Regions from separate parts of the Homo sapiens genome. Here region 1 is linked to region 2. Evidence: promoter capture Hi-C in 16 types of primary human blood cells and fetal thymus (Javierre and others, 2016). All regions are on one chromosome and are shown on one strand. Each heading gives the region's core, a stretch centred on a gene start or on the middle of the fragment in contact. The rest is flanking DNA. Distances are from core to core; before and after follow the strand shown. Region 1 holds the start of PTTG2 (pituitary tumor-transforming 2). Region 2 holds the start of FAM114A1 (family with sequence similarity 114 member A1).

Region 1 (5,166 bases), core at 530-3,029, 910 kb before region 2:
TCCTTTATTTGTCCCTTCTTTAGGACACATATATGACATCTTTTACTTTAATTATTTCTGCCCCAATTCAGAGTACTATTAGAAGGCTGTTAATAAAAAATGAATGTGTCGGAAGAGTTGAAAGAAGTTGTTTAATAATAATTCCTGCTAATGGTATAATGAGACAGGATTACAGACAGGTGGCCTGCAAACTTTATTGTAAAAGTTGCCTACCATAGTGTTTGAAGAAAAACAATTCAATTGGAATGCCTGCAGATTGGCACACACACTCTACCCCACCAGTCTCCCCGTTCCCCATTGTCTTCCACTGGCACATCATATATTTACATTCCCTCACTGACTCTGGGTGGCACTTGAATTTACAAGCTCCATATAGAGGTTACATCAATCAGTTGATATACCAGGTCCAAGTCATGGCTCTGTCACTTTCTAGCTAGCTGTGTCAGGTTAAGAGCAAGACTTCTAATGATACCTTTGAATGGCCCTTTGTATTTGAGGTGGCCTTATGCAAATAAACAGGCACAGTTGACCCTTGAACAATGTGAGGGTTAGGGGCGCCAATCACCTGCATAGTCGAAAATCCACCTATAACCTTTGACTCCCAAAAAGCTTAACCGATAGTCTTCCGTTGACCTCACCAATAACACAGTCGACTAACATATATTTCGTATGTTTTATGCACTATATCCTGTATTCTCACAATAAAGTAAGCTGAAGAAAATGTTATTAAGAAAAATCATAAGGAAGAGAACATATTGCATTATTCATTAAGTAGAAATAGATCATCATACAGGTCTTCACCCTCATTGTCTTCACGTTGAATAGGCTGAGGAGGAGGAGGAAGAGGAGGGGTTGGTCTTGCAGTCTCAGAGGTGGCAGCCGCAGAAGAAAATCTGAGAACAAGTGGATCCATGCGACTCAATCCTGTATTGTTCAAGACTCAACTGTATATTTTTGCATATGGGCTCAAATACGTACGCACATATGTCACTGGGTCAAAGATTCATAGAATGAATTAGACAACAAGAATATTTATCATTGAATTGAAATGGCTCACTGCAAAAGTGCCCTCAACTTATCTCTAGGCCTTAGAAACAGAAGTGACCCTTTGCTGCTGTGAATCAATAGCCTGGACTAGATTGGGGTTGGGTTGGCAAAGGTATATAGTCATTGCCATAGTCCAGTATTCCTGCCCAAGCAAGCACCATTAGTAGTCACGTTGCTCAGAGAGGGCCTCTCGGCTCTCCCCACCACTGCATGCTGGATTGTCTGCCACCAGTAGATCAGAGTTGGCAAAAGGGATAACTCGGGATGAAACATTTGAGCATTTTGCAGTTTAGAGAAACTTCAGGGGTGCTGCTTTAGTAAAAAATGGAAGACTTGCATTTATTAAAGGTTAGTAAGAAGTGAAATAATGTATGCAAAAGTACATTATAAATTAGAAAATGCAATAACGGCAGAAACTATTTATTTATTGGTTGCTCTGCCCTTTACCTAAGTGGTTTTTGACCATTTAACAATGTGTAAGAGTTGGGTTTTACCTCCATTTTATGGATGTGGAAATAGGGCTTGGATGTTAGCTAACTTGCCCAAATCTTACAGCTAACAGAAAGTGGTACTCCCGAGATTCCTACCCAGGTTTGTCTGACCTCAGGCCTGTGCTCTTTATATGAGTTCATGCTAACTCTCAGATGATGTGCTAGGCACAAAAATTAGATATTACACCAATTTCCACTATAGTTAACATTCTATCTAAATATAAAGTGGGACCACGGTCTTAGATGAATGTGGCTGTTGAGAGCGGCAATAATCCAGAATGGCTACTCTGATCTACGTTGATAAGGAAATTGGAGAACCAGGCACCCGTGTGGCTGCCAAGGATGTGCTGAAGCTGGAGTCTAGACCTTCAATCAAAGCATTAGATGGGATATCTCAAGTTTTAACACGACGTTTTGGCAAAACATACGATGCTCCATCAGCCTTACCTAAAGCTACCAGAAAGGCTTTGGGCACTGTCAACAGAGCTACAGAAAAGTCAGTAAAGACCAATGGACCCAGAAAACAAAAACAGCCAAGCTTTTCTGCCAAAAAGATGACCGAGAAGACTGTTAAAACAAAAAGTTCTGTTCCTGCCTCAGATGACGCCTATCCAGAAATAGAAAAATTCTTTCCCTTCAATCTTCTAGACTTTGAGAGTTTTGACCTGCCTGAAGAGCGCCAGATTGCACACCTCCCCTTGAGTGGAGTGCCTCTCATGATCCTTGATGAGGAGGGAGAGCTTGAAAAGCTGTTTCAGCTGGGCCCCCCTTCACCTGTGAAAATGCCCTCTCCACCATGGGAATGCAATCTGTTTGCAGTCTCCTTCAAGCATTCTGTCGACCCTGGATGTTGAATTGCCAGCTGTTTGCTATGACATAGATATTTAAATTTCTTAGTGCTTTGGAGTTTGTGTGTACTTGTATTAATAAAGCATTATTTGTTTAACAACATAATAAATACATAAATATAAAGTGGGTCATATTCCTCTTTATGTGCATCTGTCTCAGCTGTCCCTTGTTTCTATATTTCTTCCATACTACAGCCCGTACTCTTTGGGGATATGTCAACATGATTTACTTCTGTAGAGAAACAGGAGACAGGAAATAGCAAAGGATAAAGGAGAAAAGGCCAGGGCCAGGCCAAGAACTTCTACATCTTTTCTTCCCAGCCTAGTGTGAACCAGATGAAAGCCTTAAGGAGGTCCTAGCAGCAAAGGGAGATAATTAAAAGAATGAGAATTTTGTGGAATGCTAAAAAAAAATAGGGAACATATTTGCAGCTAGGACTAACACTGATTATCTTAAAATGTCTATATGGCTAAATAATGTTCATGAAATCCCGTATCTTATTCTGCTAATGTCTTACAACTTAAAGCACTTTTATGTCCATGCCTTGAATTCTGTACAAAGCTTTGATAGAGTCACAGATGTCTGGTGTCAATCCAGATCACCTGAGAGGCTTCAGGGTTTCCTCTCTGGTTCCTGAATTCCAAGACTTAGTGAGTTTCCTAGGCCAGGAGCTGCTATTCATTATACATGTTAGTGGTTTTGCTCTTTCTACTGAAAGTGAGTGGTGGTTATGTCTCTGAACATGTTATTCCACAAAAAGCCAACTAGATGTGGCTATTTAAGAACCATCAAAGGCCATGACAGGCCAAAGTTTCCAAATCCCTCTTCAATCAAAGGATGCTGTCAGAACTGACCTCCAAAAAAGATGCAAGGTCTCAGTCCTAGGCTGTCATACTGGTCCTTAGAGAAGAGTTACAATTTTGTGATCTGCTCCACTCCATTTTGATTTTTGCTTCCATGCTATTTTAAAACTGGAGAAGGTTTAAGTTTAAAAATTCAAGACAAATCATAAAATATTTGAGAATTTACTTGTACATTGCCTGTCTTCCCAAATAAACTGTGGGCCCCATGAGGGCAGGGACCATCTCTGTTTTGTTCACTATGGTGTCCAAGTACTTCCCCCATATCTTGGAGCTGATTCTGTGGTGGGCTGCTCCAAGTAATCTTTATCTTGGGCCAGTAGCCACGCAGGTCAAGGATAAGTTTCCATTAGGTGTGGGCATAAGCTCCTACCCAGCCATTGTCCTCTTCACCAGAAGAACTAAATTTCATCTGTAAAGGAAGACATCACATTCTGTAAATGGTAGGGCCTCATTCTCCTGTAAGATTCATATTTCTGCATTTTGGATTCAAGAACCATAGGTGTATCCCATGGCAAGACAGGAAGTATTACTGGAGTCAGACTCCCTGGGTCTTAACCCTGCTTCCTCTGTTTAATGGATATGCAACCTTGGGCAAGCCGGTAACATCTAAAATTTTACTCTTATAGCTGTTGATAGAGACACTAAACGTTTAAATTTCTAAATGTTTACTGCCATATTTATGTATGGTTATTAGCATAGTAAGGATCTAAATGATATCAGAGTAGAAACTCAATAAATATTTGTTAGATGGATGAATAATTAACCTCTCAGACTTCAGTTTCATCACCTGTAAATAAAGAGGTTTAGCTATATGGTATCTTTGCAGTTCTAATATCCTGTGGACTTAGTTATGTTAGTAGTTATGATATTTTTTATTCTTGGTAATTTTTTCAGGATTACTATAAGGATAATAAGAAGTCAAATTCTAAACTGAAATAAGTCAAGGGAATTGAATAAAAACTTGGATAAAAAAAGAAAGTGTTTTAAAAATCACCCTAAGTCCAATGATCAGCTGGCCTTTGATTTAAAGTGTGTCTGTGGTCAGCCCACGGAAATAGTATACAGCTTCTCTGAAGCTCTTTAACATCTTCATTACAGTCAGTTTAAGTACTTCTTTGGCAATAAACATCAACTTTTTTTCAGATGTCTCTTTGCATATGATGGCCTTGGCATGAGACATGAAACCATTAAGAAAATACAAGCCAGGTCCTCTGCTACAGTCCATAAAAATCATTTAGTTGAAGCTATGCATATTTACTTATTAGCTTACACTCATTTTTAAACTGACTCACAAAAAGTACAGTATTAGGCCATTCTTGCATCGCTATAAAGAAATACCTGAGACTGGGTAATTTATAAAGAAAAGAGGTTTAATTGGCTCACAGTTCTGCAGGCTGTACAGGAGGCATGGCAGTGGCATCTGCTCAGCTTCTGGGGAGGCCTCACAAAGCTTCCAGTCATGGCGGAAGGCCAAGGAGGGAGCAGGCCTCTCACATGGCAGAGCAAGAGCAAGAAAGAGTTGAGGTGGGGGGTGAGGGAGGGGGGAGGTCCAGGTGGGCGGACCACTGGAGGCCAGGAGTTCGAAACCAGCCTGGCCAACATGGTAAAACCCCATCTCTACTAAAAATACAAAAATTAGCCGGGCATGGTGGCACATGCCTGTAACCCCAGCTACTCACTGAGGAGGCTGAGGCACAAGAATCGCTTCAGCCCAGGAGGTGAAGGTTGCGGTGAGCCGAGATCACGCCACTGCACTCCAGCTTGGGTGACACAGTGAGATTCCGTGTCAAAAAAATACCCATTTATGTACTTACGTACAAAATATCTGAAACTGCTAAGACTGGGTAGTAATTACATGGGTGTCTCTTATATTATGCTATTTAAATGTTTTAAAAACATTTAATAATTTTTAAGAT
Region 2 (5,573 bases), core at 1,584-4,083:
GCACTCCAGCCTAGGTGACAGAGTAAGACCTCATTCCTAAATAAGAAAGAAAGAAATATGGGTGGGAGGGATATACAACCACCTCAAGAAAATGGCTACCTGCAGAGATGGTGGACAATGGAAGGGATAGGGTTTCAAACATATCCGTAACATTTTTTTCTTTGCAAAGAAAATTCTAAAATAAATACTGCAAAAAATTTTGTTAAATCTAGATATCATCATAGTATTTCCTATATTTTTTACACAAATAAGTATTTGTCATATTATTCTTTACTTTTCTATATATTTTAAATACTCCAGAAAATTTTTAAATGAACTTAAAATGTTTTACATTGCAAATAAATAAAATATCTGAAATAAAATCTGGTAGTCCTGGAAGCAGCTACATGAGTAAAAGGGACAAATTTGCAGTGGGCAAAACAAAAAACAAACTTGTTGCCAGGATAGTTTGCTTTATTTTCTTTATTGGATAGGTGTGGTTTGGGTCAAAGGAGAAGAGGAACTCAGCCCTTTAAAAAGAGAACATCTGATTGGGCTGTTACGGCACAGCAGGGAAGGGAAGGCAGGTTAGCAAAGGTGCTTGCTGTCTCTGGGCAGGAGCAGAAGTCCCAGGCACAGACGTCTGTGTATATGCTACACCAAAACACACCTGTTGCAACTGGAACATAATTTGATAACACTCGCAAAGCCAGAACTGGAAGGGACTGTGCCGAGCAATGCTCTTTATTTTAGAGGTGGAAAAACTGAGTTACAGAAGCCACGTGTTAGTTAAGGTTCAAAGTCTCGCTCAATTCAAAAAGGCTATTGATCTCAATTTAAAGCAGTTTCCACCCACTCTCACATTAAGATAACTTTCTGGTTTTTCTATGAATTTAAAAATGACAGGCTGGGTGTGGTGGCTCACGCCTGTAATCCCAACACTTTGGGAGGCCGAGGTGGGCAGATCACTTGAGGTCAGGAGTTCGAGACCAGCCTTGCCACCATGGCAAAACCCTGTCTCTACTGAAAACACAAAAATTAGCCGGGTGTGGTGGCACGCACCTGTAATCCCAGCTACTCAAGAGGCTGAGGCAGAAGAATCGCTTGAACCCAGGAGATGGAGATGGTGCCACTGCACTGCAGCCTAGGCCACAGATCAAGACTCTGTCCTCCTAAAAAATAAAATAAAATAAATATTCAGTAGCTTAAAAAATTATTAATATAAAAATATTTAATAAAAATATTAAATAAGAAATATAGCCAGGCACGGTGGCTCATGCCTGTAATCCCAGCACTTTGGGAGGCCGAGGTGGGTGGATCACCTGAGGTCAGGAGTTCGAGACCAGCCTGGCCAACATGGTGAAACCCCGTCTCTACTAAAAAATACAAAAATTAGCCGGGTGTGGTGGCACGCACCTGTAATCCCAGCTACTCAAGAGGCTGAGGCAGGAGAATTGCTTGAACCCAGTAAGCAGAGGCTGCAGTGAGCTGAGATCACGCCACTGCTTTCCAGCCTGGACGACAGAGCAAGACTCCATCTCAAAAAAATGAATTAATAAATTAATTAATATATATATGGAAGAAACTGGAATATAAGGAGCAAACTAATTGTCAATAGGAGAATGATTGAATGAAATATAATTACAAACATATTGCAATATATAAGACAAGTCTTAGAAGAGTGGTTTTGGTTGATATGTATTGACCAAGAAAGATGATTATAATATATAATAAATAGGGGGAAATTTACAAAATACGTCAACATCTCGCCATTTTTATAAAAAAGCAAACAAAAAGCTGTTTATGCATACATGTATTTATATAAGCTTAGAAAAACTATGGTAGGATCCACACACTATAAAAAATGGTAGTGATATTGAAAGGGAGAGACTAGGGCTATTTTTTCTTTAACTTTGAATTTATAATTCTTCAAAAAGAAGAAGGGATGGAGTGAGAGAGGAGAAAATCTGCCTTAAACACATCGCTCAGAAAGAATCACTATTTTTAAATTGTATTTCCTCCGACTTTTATAGAAAATACAAAATTGTTTACAAAACTAGTTAATACTATAAACACTGCGCTTCCTCCGCATCTGAGTTCATATTAAGCCATATTTGAGGAAGGCCTTCATATGTGGCCTTCCCTCCATGTCAACGAATCCTCATTTTTAAGGGCTACAACATATTCGATGTCTGAAGTTACTGTAGCTTACTTCACCAATCTTACTGGGGGACATTGAGATTGTCTCCGGCTTCCCCCCGCAGAAACAACTACAACAAACATCCTTGTACATACATATTTGCCCATTTGACTGCCTACTTAGGACAAATTCACAAATGTGGAATTCCTAGGCCAAAGCTAATACATCGGAGTTTTAACCCACAGCTCCAAACTGGCCTTCTGGAAAGTGGGTTTTCGTTGTTTGTTTGGGGTTTGTTTGTTTTAAATCTATCACACTCCCACCGACAGGGCAAGGGAGTGCTGCTTAACGCAGAATCAGGAGATCAAACTTTAGCTGAATTTGAGCGACCTCTTCCCAGTGACACGGCGGGGGGTTTTCCAAGCCCTTTTAAGGAAAGGAAAGGGATCTGGCGAACCCCGAGACCCACCCGCCCTGGGCTGGAGAGGCGGCGCGCTCTGGCTTTCCGCGCTGGCACAGGGGTGGGACAAGCCAAGTTTCCAGGAGACTCGCCCAGCGCGGGCCCGGCCCTCGCAGCGTGGGGGTGGCCGGGCGTCCCCGCGGCGCTCCTCGTGGGGCGGGGCGCAGGCGGGGCGGGGCCCCCTCTCCAGCCGCCCGCCCTCCGGCCGCGTCCCCGCCGGCCCTGCAGACGTGGCGGGGCGGGACCCGCTGGGCACTCCCGCGCGTACTCGGCCGCCTGAGCGGTAAGAGCCCCGGGCACTCGGTCCCCATCCCCTTCCCCGGGGGGCGGGCGAGCGCGGGGGCGGCTGCCCGGGGGTGGTGGGAACACCATACCTTGGCGCCTCGTCCGGGACCCACGAATCCTGCCCTCTGCGTTAGTGAGAAGCAGTGGTCAGGGAGGACCCGGCTCTGGGGTGAGGGTCTGGGGCGGCGCGGCCGAGGGACCTGCGTGGGTGCGGGCGTGTGAGTGTGTGTGTGTGAGTGTGTGTCGCTCCGGGTCCACGCTCATGCACACACCCACACGCCCACACTCAGGGTCTGCCCCCTCGGCCTGCGTGAACCTCCGCGGAGCCTGCCTGGATCTCCCAAAGTATCCAGTCCTGGCACCAAGCAAGTCTGGAAAAGTGCCCCCAATGGCTCGGGGCCAAGTCAGAGGTGGGCTGCAGGGTCCCCCAGCCCGGGCACGAAGGGAGCAGGTCCCTGTAAGACAGAGGCCTCGTCCCAGGGTGCGCCTGCCCTCGGCCTTGGCACAGGGAGCTCAGGCCTTGACCTCCCCGCTCCCCTCGCCTTACTCCTCCCCCAACAGCCGACCCACGCCCTGCCTGCTCTTCCAGTCCAGCCAACACTCTAAGCAGGCACCGCCTCCACTCGCAGCCCCCGGGATGGGTCCCACTCCCTACCGCAGATCCCCAGGCCCCCTCCACCCAGTCGGCTAGCCCTCGCCTCTGCCATCCGGTGAGTATTTCCAGGCACCTCAGACCAGGCGCCTGAACGTCACTGCCTTTTCTTAAGTAGGAAGACATCTCTCTATGGGCTGTGAGAGCATTACCTATGCCCTACTGATCCCATCATTTCCCATCCTAAACATCTTGAAGGACACAGGCAGGTGGCTTCTTAAATCAGTGTGCTCTGAACTCCCTGTGACCTCAGCCAACCTGTGACAACTGAGAATGAGACAGGCTCTATCCTCAGAGCCTCTTTTTGCCCTCTCTGCAGCCTAGTGGCTCCTTCCCTACCCCACCCATAGGCCTGCGTCCCCGCCCTCCTTTCTTCCATCAAGCCTGAGCTTGGGAAAGAATCTGATAAACTTCTTACATTGTAACCTTTAAGTGAAGGAATGAGACGTTAGGGATGGATTTGAGGCACAAGTGAGACAGTGCAGAAGGAATTTGAGGGTTGGAGGGGGCTTTCTTGAATCTGAGCGATTCAGACCATAAAAGTAAACTTGTCTTTGTTTATTTGACCAGGCTTACATCAAACATGGTTTCTCTTTTATTAATATCAAACACAATGTATTTCAATTCAGTAAATATCTGAGGGACAGAAACCAACCTAGGTGCTGTTGGTCACAGTCTTGGAGGACAGAATGGCAGAAGTAAATACTCCATAAATACATGGAATAGAAATCTGTGCAAAGTGCCAAAAACATAGAAGAGGTAGCAGTTATTTCATTGGAAGCAGTGGGGCAGATTAAGGAAAAATTCAGAATGAAAGGTAACATTAGACACTGGGTGTCTAGAGGAATAGGAGTTTGCCAGGCAGCTGGAGGAAGGGCAGCACCGGGGCAGAGGAACCAGCGTAAGCAAAGGCAGGGAGATGTGAAGAGTTATGGGGAATGGAGAAAAGACTGGTGAGGCAGGAGTGGAGGATACTGAGAGTTGCAAGAGGTGGAGAGAGATTGGAGCTGGATTATGATGGGAAGTGTGAAGATATTTACACCTAATGGTTTTTGAACAGGAGAGCAAATAGGTCCAAAAATGCCTGGCAGCCTCACAGAGAATAGGCTGGAGCCTGGGTACGTAGACTTGTCAAGCTTTATACAAACTCATACAAACTGCTACAACCTGATTAAGAGCCTCTCATCCAGAGTTTTTATTCCTGGTCCTTCGCTGACTGGCACTGTTTTTGTTTTTTTTTTTTAACTGGGGGAGATGACCTCACACAGGATATCATGCTAACCAAATTTTTATGCTGCCAAGTCAGGCCATTTTTTTTAAAAAAATCCATCCACTGTCACTATTTCATAAAATGAAAGACATTTTAATACCAAGAAAAAGCACAAAGGCTAAACTTGAAAGATGAAGGCAGTCCTTTACATTTAATAAATTTAGATTTATGAAAAACTTGCAATCTTGTCCTCATTTTTCTCTATCATCACAGACTTGCCCCAGTCCTGCAGGTGGAGTTTGGAAAAAAAAGCATCCAGATCAGTTTGTCCATCCTAGCTTTACAGAGGAGCAGGTGTAAGCACAGTGAGGATCAAGTTGTGTGCCCACAAAGGGATACTGGGACCAGAGGCCACATCCCTTGACGCCTGCAGGACACAACTCTTTCCACCTCAGAATACCATCGCTCCCACCTCTCATCATTCCTCCATGCAGCCTCATGTCCTGGCCTCTCAGACACCTGTCCTGAATCACTACAGTCCATCGCTGATGCTTGGACATTTGCACATGCTCTCATCCCACCAGGCCTGAATCACCACATCAAAGACACTTTCAAGATTCTCCCTTGCACAGGGTCAGTCTAGTTCAGGCACATCTGTCCTTGATTTGCTGTGCTGTTTTGCATCACTTTTTAACTGTTTTGTGTTAGCTCCTCAAACAGATGATTGATTTCTGAAGGATAGTGACCATGTCTTCTGTTTTATACTTATTTTTGGAGCTGTGATGTTGCTGCTTAAATACCTTGCATAGTTCTGGGAGCATTTTAGGTGATGAATGAATTTACTCAC

The links. The method cuts DNA at HindIII sites, captures the fragments that hold promoters and counts their contacts. A CHiCAGO score of 5 or more calls a contact.
Region 1: the fragment with the promoter of PTTG2 here is called in contact with the fragment with the promoter of FAM114A1 in region 2 in 2 of 17 cell types (activated CD4 T cells and total B cells); the score reaches 5.6 in activated CD4 T cells.

Annotation. Positions count from the first base shown.
Region 1 is chr4:37,958,619-37,963,784 of GRCh38, forward strand. It overlaps PTTG2 (pituitary tumor-transforming 2), which reads left to right and starts at 1,780. Exons shown (of 1, transcript NM_006607.3): 1 at 1,780-2,510. The coding sequence starts at 1,817. The coding sequence ends at 2,392. All of the region lies in intron 2 of TBC1D1 (TBC1 domain family member 1), which reads left to right. The HindIII fragment of the contact is 1,467 bases long and covers 608-2,074 here.
Region 2 is chr4:38,864,973-38,870,545 of GRCh38, forward strand. FAM114A1 (family with sequence similarity 114 member A1) reads left to right here and starts at 2,834. Exons shown (of 15, transcript NM_138389.4): 1 at 2,834-2,862; 2 at 3,426-3,574. MIR574 (microRNA 574) reads left to right here and starts at 3,060; the gene lies at 3,060-3,155. It also overlaps a transcript of TLR6 not described here. RefSeq lists silencers at 2,598-3,077, 3,128-3,177 and an enhancer at 3,385-3,968. The HindIII fragment of the contact is 2,847 bases long and covers 1,804-4,650 here.